Linked DNA regions of Homo sapiens: regions 2 and 3 are each linked to region 1. The links are contacts of gene promoters, found by promoter capture Hi-C in blood cells and fetal thymus (Javierre and others, 2016). All regions are on one chromosome and are shown on one strand. Each heading gives the region's core, a stretch centred on a gene start or on the middle of the fragment in contact. The rest is flanking DNA. Distances are from core to core; before and after follow the strand shown.

The links. The method cuts DNA at HindIII sites, captures the fragments that hold promoters and counts their contacts. A CHiCAGO score of 5 or more calls a contact.
Region 2: a contact is called between a fragment that was not itself captured here and the fragment with the promoter of SLC71A1 in region 1, in 1 of 17 cell types (erythroblasts). The highest score is 8.0, in erythroblasts.
Region 3: the fragment with the promoter of DBT here is called in contact with the fragment with the promoter of SLC71A1 in region 1 in 4 of 17 cell types (activated CD4 T cells, naive CD8 T cells, non-activated CD4 T cells and 1 more); the score reaches 7.7 in activated CD4 T cells.

The regions. Positions count from the first base shown.
Region 1 is chr1:100,036,537-100,039,980 of GRCh38, forward strand. SLC71A1 (solute carrier family 71 member 1) reads left to right here and starts at 1,559. Exons shown (of 12, transcript NM_033055.3): 1 at 1,559-1,780. The coding sequence starts at 1,697. It overlaps LOC124904230 (a long non-coding RNA gene), which reads right to left and starts at 1,472. Exons shown (of 7, transcript XR_007066251.1): 1 at 1,194-1,472. RefSeq lists enhancers at 1,031-1,633, 1,596-1,875 and silencers at 1,356-1,535, 1,996-2,185. The HindIII fragment of the contact is 6,938 bases long and covers 241-3,444 here.
Region 2 is chr1:99,799,170-99,802,613 of GRCh38, forward strand. No RefSeq gene overlaps it. Among named protein-coding and RNA genes, the nearest start is that of FRRS1, 34 kb to the left of the region's middle. The HindIII fragment of the contact is 1,302 bases long and covers 1,090-2,391 here.
Region 3 is chr1:100,248,214-100,251,657 of GRCh38, forward strand. DBT (dihydrolipoamide branched chain transacylase E2) reads right to left here and starts at 1,621. Exons shown (of 11, transcript NM_001918.5): 1 at 1,557-1,621. The coding sequence starts at 1,607. RefSeq lists enhancers at 790-1,349, 1,350-1,909, 1,511-1,630 and a silencer at 1,741-1,840. The HindIII fragment of the contact is 8,889 bases long and covers 1-3,444 here.

The sequences.
Region 1 (3,444 bases), core at 309-2,808:
CTATAAATTGCTTTTCTTCTCCCTTCCATGGAAATTAGTTTTTTTTTCCATTTTTAGTCAGTATGAAAATACAAGGAAAAGGAAATTCAATCAAATTTACTTTTTAACATTTTATTTGGAAATAATTTCAAACTTACAGAAAAGTTGCAAAAACAGTACAAAGAACTCATACATTCATTTACTGTTTTTCCTTTTACCCTATATATTAGTTATTTATAGCTGTGTAACAAATAACCCCAAAGCTTAGTGGCTTACACCAAGTACTTTTCATCTTACACTGTTTCTGAGTCAGGATTCCAGGAGTGGCTAAGCTAGGTGGTCCTACCTCTGGGTCTCTCATGAAGTTGTAGTCAGCCAAAGGCTTGACCAAGGTTGGAGGATCTACTTCCAAAGTGACTCACTCCGTGGCATTTGGTAGGAGGCTACAAACAGTTCCTGGACAACTGGATCTCTCCATAGGCTGCTTGAGTGTCCTGAAAACACGGAAGCAGGCTTCCCCAGGCTCCAAGCCCCAAAATGAATGAAAAAGAGACCCGCAAAGGAAGATGCAGTGCCTTTTATGACCTAGCCTCTGAAGTCAATACTGTCACTTCTGTTTTGATCTATCAAGAGTCACTAAGCCTAGTCTACACTCAAGGGGAGGGGAATTAGAGTCCACCTCTTCCAGGGAGGAATATCATTGAATCTGTGAACATATCTTAGAACTACCATACCTAGTTTCAGTACTTTTAAACATTCGCCATTTTGCTTTGTCCCTCTCTTTTCCCCACCTACATATACATACACATACATGTTACTCCCTAACCATCTGAGAGTAGGGAGCATGCGGTGTATCCCTATCCCTCGTGTTTTTCTCTTAAGGAAAAGGATATTCTATTATACAACACGGTAGTTATCAATATCTAATTTTAACATTGTGATACTTTAAAGTCCACTTCCACTTGTGTAAATTGCCCTTTCTAGCAATGTTCCCATCAAATTTATTTTTAAACAATACAGTAAAAACGTAGAGGGCCACAAAGGGTGACATCGGTCAGGTAAGGTATTTTTTTTGGCAGGGAATAAAAAAGGTCCTGGGTCTAGGGAGGTAAACAAGCGTGAGCCAGCTGAGTTCTAGCGGGGGTCCCTGAACACCAAAAGGACAAGACTGTTTCTGAAACACTACATTATCTCTTAAGTTACCCATTACTTACGGAAAATGATTTTTTACTGTTCCCTTCGGTTCCTGTCTTGGTTAGAACACAGCTGGAGATTGTGTTAATAGCTTAGGACGTCTGTTTCCGTGAGCAGGTAACAACTTTTTGAAACAAATTCCCTCATCTGCTGAAGAAGGGGGACAAAAACGGCCCCTATCGCCCAGAACCGTTGCGAGGATTTAGCTAGCTGGTGACGCCGGAGCACGAAGTTGTACAGGTAGCCAGCAGCACCCACGCGAGCCCGCGGTTACCCTGGCCGCGCGGCTACTGTAGAGTGGGCTGGCGGCGAGCGGGCGGGGCGGTATCACGCGGGAGGGGCGGGGCCCGCTCGTCGGCTGATCGCACGATTGTGACGCGCCGCCGGAGGCAGGCCGGGCCCTCAAGATGGCGGCGGGCGCCCAGAGCGGCTCGGCCCGGCAGTAGTGGTGGGACGGCACTAGCTGCTGGGGCCTGCCGCCCCGGGAGTGGCTGCAGCAGCGCCAGGAATCGAGGATGGTAAAATGACCCAGGGGAAGAAGAAGAAACGGGCCGCGAACCGCAGTATCATGCTGGCCAAGAAGATCATCATTAAGGACGGAGGCACGGTGAGCTGAGTTCCGCGCCGGCGAGCGTCCCTCGGGGCCCCCATCCGGTCTCTCCTTCAGACCCCCACACTGCCGTCTCTAGGCGTCCCGGTGCCTCCCTCCCTTCCCCCACCCTGTCCGAGCTGCCGGTGCCTCGGGGTCGCGGACCCGCATGCCGCCGCTCCGGGAATCGTCCTCCGCTGCTCGGGCTTGCGGCCTCCGGGGCCCGTCCTCTTTCTTTCCCGCACCTGCCGCCCTCTGCTCTGGCCGCCTCTGCAGGCCCTGCGGCCTCGAACCCCACGTGCGCCTCCGCCGCGGGGAGGAATGTGCGGGGCTCCCCCGGCGGCCCGCCCGCCGCGCCCCTCGTCGCCGCAGCCTCGCCTCGCCTTCGCCGCCAGGCCCCGCGGAGCCGTCGCCGCGCTTGTCAAGGGGCTGGGAACCATCCCTGCTCTCCCATATGTTGCTAACGGGGTGGCGTCTGGCGCGGGGATCCCGCTGCGGCCCCGTAGTACGTTCGCTTTCTGTTTCCACGTCTCTCTGCGTCGGTGCTCCGGCTCTGGGCTGCTTACAGTAAACCCTGACCGGAGATGGGCTTCCCTCACTTCCCGGAGTCGGAAGCATGACGGCAGACACCTGGGGCCTACATTCGAACCTGCTAGTTTTCAAAGAAAAGTCATCACTGTGTGTCTTAAGATCAAAAGTATTAGAATCAGTCATGGCCTAAGGATCGGAGGAGGACACTTTGAAGGGAAGAAAGGTTTGCTTTTTAGAAACAGTTGTCATCACAGTAAACTTTATGCAGTGTGTAGTTAACCAGCTGGGGACGTAGGATTTTTAATTGAAAAACAAAACAAAACAAAACTGTTTTATGCTAACATTTCTCCGTTGCTACACTGTGTGGTCTTTGTTGCATCCGCTGATACCGCGTTCTGAAATAGAATGGAAAGGTGATATATATGTTTCACTTACCTGAAGTGTGCAGAAATTGTACCATTAATTCCATTTCTGTTTATATCTTATTGGAGCCGCGATCAACTGCTAGCACAGTAGTAAATGTGTAAGTAGGCCACCATTGAGGATTTGCTGAATTCAGTTGAAAAACGTGACAAAATTTTATGACATTTCAGAACACGGCCCAGTCAATATGCCAAAGTTTAGAAAACTTGAGACATATGTAATGACTTTGGAATATATTTTTAGTTTAACGTTTATTATATGTTATAGCTTTGACATTTATTGAAAAAAAGAAACAAATTCCTCAAGTTCTTTTTATTGAACTTGATTAATTAAAACATTACTTTGATTAGATCGGTTATGAAGAGTCATAGCTCTTTTGACCAAGTAGGTAAGAACTATGTGGGGAGAAAAATACTGTTGCCTTTGTCTACCTTTAGAAAGAGACAATATTTTACATTCTTCATAAAATCTACAAAATAGTGGCAATGAAAGATTGTATTTTGTAAGACCAAGTGATATTTAAGATCAGTATTTTTTACAAAATGTAAGAATGAAACTGATTAAGAAACACAGCTTCCTTTTCCTTGGAAAGTTCAGTTTTATTACCTTTCTTTGGGGTTTTGTTTGATTTGCTTTACAGCAGATGCTTTCTTTCCAAATCCTGTGAGTTTTGGAAAAGATCGTTTTTAAACTTTCTTGTCCTATTATTAAGGTTGTAATTAATTCTT
Region 2 (3,444 bases), core at 491-2,990, 240 kb before region 1:
GGTTGAAAATTCTTTTCTTTAAGAATGTTGAATATTGGTCCCCACTCTCTTCTGGCTTGTAGGGTTTCTGCAGAGAGACCCGCTGTTAGTCTGGTGGGCTTCCCTTTGTGGGTAACCCAACCTTTCTCTCTGGCTGCCCTTAACATTTTTTCCTTCATTTCAACCTTGGTGAATCTGACAATTATGTGTCTTGGGGTTGCTCTTCTCAAGGAGAATCTTTGTGGTGTTCTCTGTATTTCCTGAATTTGAATGTTGGCCTGCCTTGCTAGGTTGGGGAAGTTCTCCCAGATAATATCCTGAAAAGTGTTTTCTAACTTGGTTCCATTCCCCCCGTCACTTTCAGGAACACCAAGCAAACACAGATTTGGTCTTTTCACATAGTCCCATATTTCTTGGAGGCTTTGTTCATTTCTTTTCACTCTTTTTTTCTCTAATCTTGTCTTCTTGCTTTATTTCATTAATTTGATCTTCAATCACTGATATCCTTTCTTCCACTTGTTCGACTCGGCTATTGAAGCTTGTGTATGCTTCACGAAGTTCTCATACTGTGATTTTCAGTTCTATCAGGTCATTTAAGGTCTTCTCTACACTAGTTATTCCAGTTAGCCATTCGTCTAACCTTTTTTCAAGGTTTTTAGCTTCCTTGCAATGAGTTAGAACATGATCCTTTAGCTCAGAGAAGTTTGTTATAACCGACCTTCTGAAGCCTACTTCTGCCAACTCGTCAAACCCATTCTCCAACCAGTTTTGTTCTCTTGTTGGTGAGAAGTTGTGTTCCTTTGGAGGAGAAGAGGTGTTCTAGTTTTTGGAATTTTCAGCCTTTCTGCTCTGGTTTCTCCCCTCTTTGTGGTTTTATCTACCTTTGGTCTTTGATGTTGGTGACCTATGGATGAGGTTTTGGTGTAGATGTCCTTTTTGTTGATGTTGATGCTATTCTTTTCTGTTTGTTGGTTTTTCTTCTAACAGAGAAGCCTCTCAGTTGCAGGTCTGTTGGAGTTTGCTGGAGGTCCACTCCAGACCTTGTTTGCCTGGGTATCACCAGCAGAGGCTGCAGAATAGCAAATATTGCTGCCTGATCCTTCCTCTGGAAGCTTCATCCCAGAGGGGCACCCACCTGTATGAGGTGTCTGTCAGCCCCTACTGGGAGGTGTCTCCCAGTCAGGCTACACAGGGGTCAGGGACCCACTTGAGGAGGCAGTCTGTCTGTTATTGCAGCTCGAATGCCGTGCTGGGAGAACAACTGCTCTCTTCAGAATGGTCAGGCAGGGATGTTTAAGTATGGAGAAGCTGTCTGCTGCCTTTTGTTCAGATATGCCCTGCCCTCATAGGTGGAATCTAGAGAGGCAGTAGGCCTTGCTGAGCTCCAGTGGGCTCCACCCAGTTCGAGCTTCCCTGCCACTTTGTTTACACTGTGAACATAGAACCACCTACTCAAGCCTCAGCAATGGTGGACACCCCTCCCCCCACCAAGCTCCGGCATCCCAGGTTGATCTCAGACTGCTGCGCTAGCAGCAAGCAAGGCTCTGTGAGCATAGGACCTGCTGAGCCAGGCACAGGAGGGGATCTCCTGGTCTGCAGGTTGTGAAGACCATGGGAAAAGTGCAGTATTTGGGCAGAAGTGTACCACTCCTCCAGGTACAGTCACTCACGGCTTCCCTTGGCTAGGAATGGGAAATCCCCCAACCCCTTGCATTTCCCCGGTGAGGCAATGCCCCACCCTGCTTCAGCTTGCCTTCCATGGGCTGCACCCACTGTCCAACCAGTCCCAATGAGATGAATCAGGTACCACAGTTGGAAATGCAGAAATCACCCATCTGCTTTGTCAATCTTGCTGGGAGCTATAGACCAGAGCTGTTCCTATTTGGCCATCTTGGAAGTGACCAGTGCCCCTAAAGTCTTAACGCATTCCAGTTTCAACTCTAAAGTCTAACATTTAAAGTCTAATATTTTTTCTTAACTTAATAAGGTTTTCTTTAACTTTTGTTTTAAGTTCAGAGGTACATGTGCAGGTTTGTTATTAAAGTCTCTCTAAAAATCATCTAAACTGGATATTGCCGAGACTTGAGATGTAATTCATTATGAGGCAAAATTTTTCTCCAGCTGTGAACCTTTGAAACCAAATATGTTATCTGATTCCAAAATACAATAGTGGGACAGACATAGAATAAACATTCCCATTCCAAAAGAAGAAGCAGGAAAGAAGGAAAGGTAGTTGGTTTCAAGCCAGTTCAAAACCCAACAAGGTATTCCATGAGATCTTAAGCCCGGAGAATAATCCTCTTCAACACTCTGCCTTCTAGGCCTGGTGGTGTTGGGGTGAGGGGGTCATCCCCCTAAGGCTGTACATGGTGGTCTTGGCCCCACAGCTCTGCAGAGAGGTCCTGGCTCCCAAGCTTTGGTCAGAGGCCACCTGGCCTTTTAAAACTGAATGGTGACCGTGATAATCTCTGAATTGCCTTCAGGGCAATTTTTCTCTGTCTTTGAACAGTGCACGTTTATACCCAGATAGCTCTATCGTCTTGTCTTTCAAAATCTAAGAAGTCAAATATCCTTTCTTCATTTTGTCCAACCTCCATCCCTCAGTTCAAGCTGACAGTGCTTCTGCTCCTATAATATCATAAACTCTTTATTGAGTGAAAGTCCAGCCACACCCTTGGTGTTCCTTTCAGAATATGTTTTTGCATTTTTTGCAATATCAATAGGCTGAATTTTCCAAATATTTAAGATCTAGTTCCTTGTTGCTTAACAATCCTTTCTTCAGTTCATCTCTGTCCTCTCACATATTACTATAAACAGTCAGGAGGAACTAAGATACTCCTTCAACACTTTGCTTAGAAATATTCTCAGGGAAATTTCCAGTTTCATTGCTTACCAGTTCTACTTTCCAAAAAAACACTAGAACACAAACACAATTCAGTCAGGTTATTTCCCTCTTTATAACAAGGATTGCCTCTCCTTCAGGTTCCTACATGATCTTTGTTACCATCTGAGACTTCACAAGAATCACCCTTAATATCTATATTTATAGTATGCACCTTAAAACTCTTCCAGCCTCTACCCATTACCCATTTCCAAAGCAACTTCCACATGTTTAAGCATTTGTTACAGCAGCACCTCACTTCTCAGTATCAAAATCTGTATTAGTCTGGGTTATCCATAGAAACAGAACTGCTAAGAGATATAAATAGATAGATATAAAGAAGCTTATAAGAAATTGGGCCAGGTGAAGTGGCTCACACCTGTAATCCCAGCACTTTGAGAGGTCGAGGTGGGCGGATCACTTGAGGTCAGGAGTTCAAGACCAGCCTGGTCAACATGGTGAAACCCCATCTCTACTAAAAATACAAAAGTTAGCTGTGGCATTCATCTCTGGTCCCAGCTACTCAGGAGGCTGAGGCAGGAGAATCACTTGAACCTGGGAGGCAGAGGTTGCAGTGAGCCAAG
Region 3 (3,444 bases), core at 371-2,870, 210 kb after region 1:
CTTCAACATAAAAGAAGAAGTCGTAGCAGCCCTCTTGTATACAGTAGGAAAAGGACAAATGAACTACTAGGGAAATGACGACATTGATAATCATAAGCCACTTAATGTGAGCTGACATCTAATTGGGGATGCTCTGTATGCATGGATACTTAATTTCCTATTTATTGGTTGGGTTTTTAATTGCAGCTGGAAAACATCACGTACATATGAAACTGGAGATTTCCAGGACAGTAGGATATATGGGTTTGGAGTAGACCTGGTTGGAAGACTGGGGAACTTTAGGACTCATCAGCATAGATGGTAACTAAAGCCAAAGAGTGGATGGGATAACCCAGAAAGTGGGAAAAGTGCAGAGGGCCAAAGTCAGAGCCCTTTAGAAAAAGCAATATTTAAAAGGCGGGAAGGGAAACAGGATATTGGGATGAAGTGGCCAAAGATGAAGAAAGAATAATATTGGGAAACTGGTGTCACAGAAAACAAGAATGGAAAGCTCTAGAAAGAAGAGAGACCAATATGTGTTAAGTGTTGCTGAGAAGAGCTCTCTTCTCCTGGTTATCTCTTACTTATCCTTCTTACATCTCAAGTCATACAGTATCCTCTGGGAACTCCTCTGACCCCCAAGTCCACCATAGGTGTCCACTCCTGTGTGTTCCTGTAGTTCTAGGCACTTGTCCCATCACAGTACCTCTCATGCTGGGTTGTAATTTCTATCTGTCTCCCTCTCCTTTGTCCTCCACCACAAGGTTGTAATCTCTTGAGAAGGAAGATATGATGTCTATTTCATATTTGTATCTCCAGTGCCTAACACAGCACTGGTACATAGCAGGCTCTTGAAAGTTTTTGTAAGATCGGGGTCACCAAGGCAGGAGCATCTAGGGAAAGGGAGAAGAGGCAGGAAGAAGAAACACTAAGCAAATAGGGGTAACAAGTATCATTACCGGTATGTGTCAGTGCTTGGTGCTAAGACTGGGAGAAAGAGAAGGAAGTGCAGGGGAGATGGTGATGGGTCACAGCCTTGGTGACAAAAGGGTAGGAATGATATGTGGTGCGGACATAGAAGTACAAGGCAAAAGAGTGACGCCGAGCTGCTCAGTTCTTCGGAAGCAGGGACCCCTGCTGATATTCTATAACTTGAACGGCCTCTTCCTCTACACACTGTAGATTCCTTGAGGGTAGGGGTCGTGTTACCAGTGTTTGGCATACTGTGGGTACGCAATAAATGCTAAACGAATATATCTCTGGATCCACAGCGCCTATCACAATGCCTGGGCACCTGGAAGGCGCTCAATAAAACGCTAGCTGGGCCTCGGGGTACAGATGGAGCAGGACGGCTGAGTCGCTGCAGAAGCGCTTCCAGGTAAGGGGAGGGAGTGGGTTTCCACTCCAGACTGGTCGACTCGCTCCGTTCTCTGCCCTTTATTTTGCATGCATCCCTTCACCTCTCCATCACGCGTGCCCTGGACGCCTGGCACCGGAGGAGAAAGTAAAACACCACTCCTGGATGACTCCGGACAAATCACTCCTTCCCGGCCTCAGATCTGCCCAAACGTGCTTACCAGCTTCCCCGCATTCCTGCTCCAGGTTCTCAGCATACGGACTGCAGCCATCTTACCCCGGAAATGACAACAGTGCCGCAAACTGGAGAGACTCTCCTCGGCGCGGCCTATCAGGAGATGGGAAACGCGCCTCCCCCTGGGCGACCAATAGGGAGGGAAGAAACGAGCCTCCCACCCAACAGCCAACCAAGGAGTAGGGCGGAGCCTGAGCTAAACCCTAGGATCTGGGACCCAGCGGGGAGTGAAAAGAGCCTGGGGGACGGAGGCGGGGCAGAGGGCAGCCCAAATTTAACACTGCTGTGTAAATACAGATGCACCAAAGATAATCTTTTTAGTGTATGTGATGGGGAAAATAGAGAGTGTTAAGGAAACACAAAGAAAGGTACTTACCTCAAGAAAGTTATGTTGCAGTAGGACCTGAGCGATGAGTTGGAAAACATTTCCCCGTCTTCATCTTGTAGTGTAGCCGCCCCAAATACAGAAAATAGAATATTTCTATACGTTGTAGCAAGGCTCTGGACAACTAGTTGTTTCACAAGTCCATACAGCAGTACTTCCCAATGACTGCCTTTTTTACTCCCATTTATGTTTTTGATTACCAAAATTGGCTAATCAATTTTTTTCATGAAAGATGAACATTACCTAATGTCTAAAATAAACATGTTATCATCTTTCTTTTTACAGACTGCTATCAGATGCAGCTAACTAGCATATGCAATACATGTCACAGACACATGATCTTGATTTAGTTGTCTCTTAAAGAAATGTCAAATTCAGGTCAAGTGGAACTGGTAAAGAACAGATCAGAGCTTTCTTTTAAAAGGCAATCTTCCTCAGAGCAACTAGGAAACCAATTCCTGGAAATGTCCAGGATGACATTAGTCTGTTATTGCTTCTTACGTGGGAATGAAAATCTGCACAGATGTCTAAGGAATTACAGAGAAAAAAAACTGGAACAAATACATTTTAAATGCTCAACATTGAAGATTAGTGGTTATGAAACAAAATCTCAGGTATTTCACAACTTCATTGTTTAATATGACCCAAACACTTTTCCCCCTCATTTGCCATTTTATGTATTACACATCTACACACAAAAAATCAATGCAAACAATAAATCTTATTATCTTTTTTGTTTGTTTGTTTGTTTGGTAGAGATAGGGTCTCTTGGGCCAGGCGTGGTGGCTCCTGCCCATAATTCCAGCACTTTGGGAGGCTGAGGCAGGCAAATGGCTTGAGCTCAGAAGTTCAAGATGGGATCTCTCTATGTTGCCCAGGCTGGTCTCAAAGTCCTGGTCTCAAACTGCGATCTTCCCATTTCAGCCTCCCAAAGTCCTAGGATTACAGGCATGAGCCACTGGGTCCGGCCTAAATAGCTATCTTTCTCAGAAAATCTAGAGTAGTCAAAAGAATTTCAAGTTTTTACATTTCCTTAAAAATGTTTATAGACATTATTAATATATTTGATAATCCCACAAGCATGTGTTTGTATAAAAAGCAGTGGCAGTTGTACCTTTGAAGTGAATCATCTCCCTTCCAAGCTGCTGCTATACAACTTTCTTTGTCCTAATTTCGTTTTTAACTGTACCTGCTCCTCAGAAGATAACTAGTTTATTTTCCTTTACCGTCTTCTTATGTCAATGGATTCTTGCTTCTATATTCAGTATAATATGTGTCCTTATCTTTCATTCCAGCATCTGGAAAGAAATACACCATCTATTCCCTAGTTAATTCTTTTATTCGAGTTTGAAAGAAACAAAGACCCCATTTCTTCTCTTTTTTTAGATTTAAAAATGGCCAGTTATGACCCACCAATTCCACTCCTGGATAGCTACATAAGAGAAATGACAACAGTGTTCACACAAAGACTTGAATAGGAATAATCATA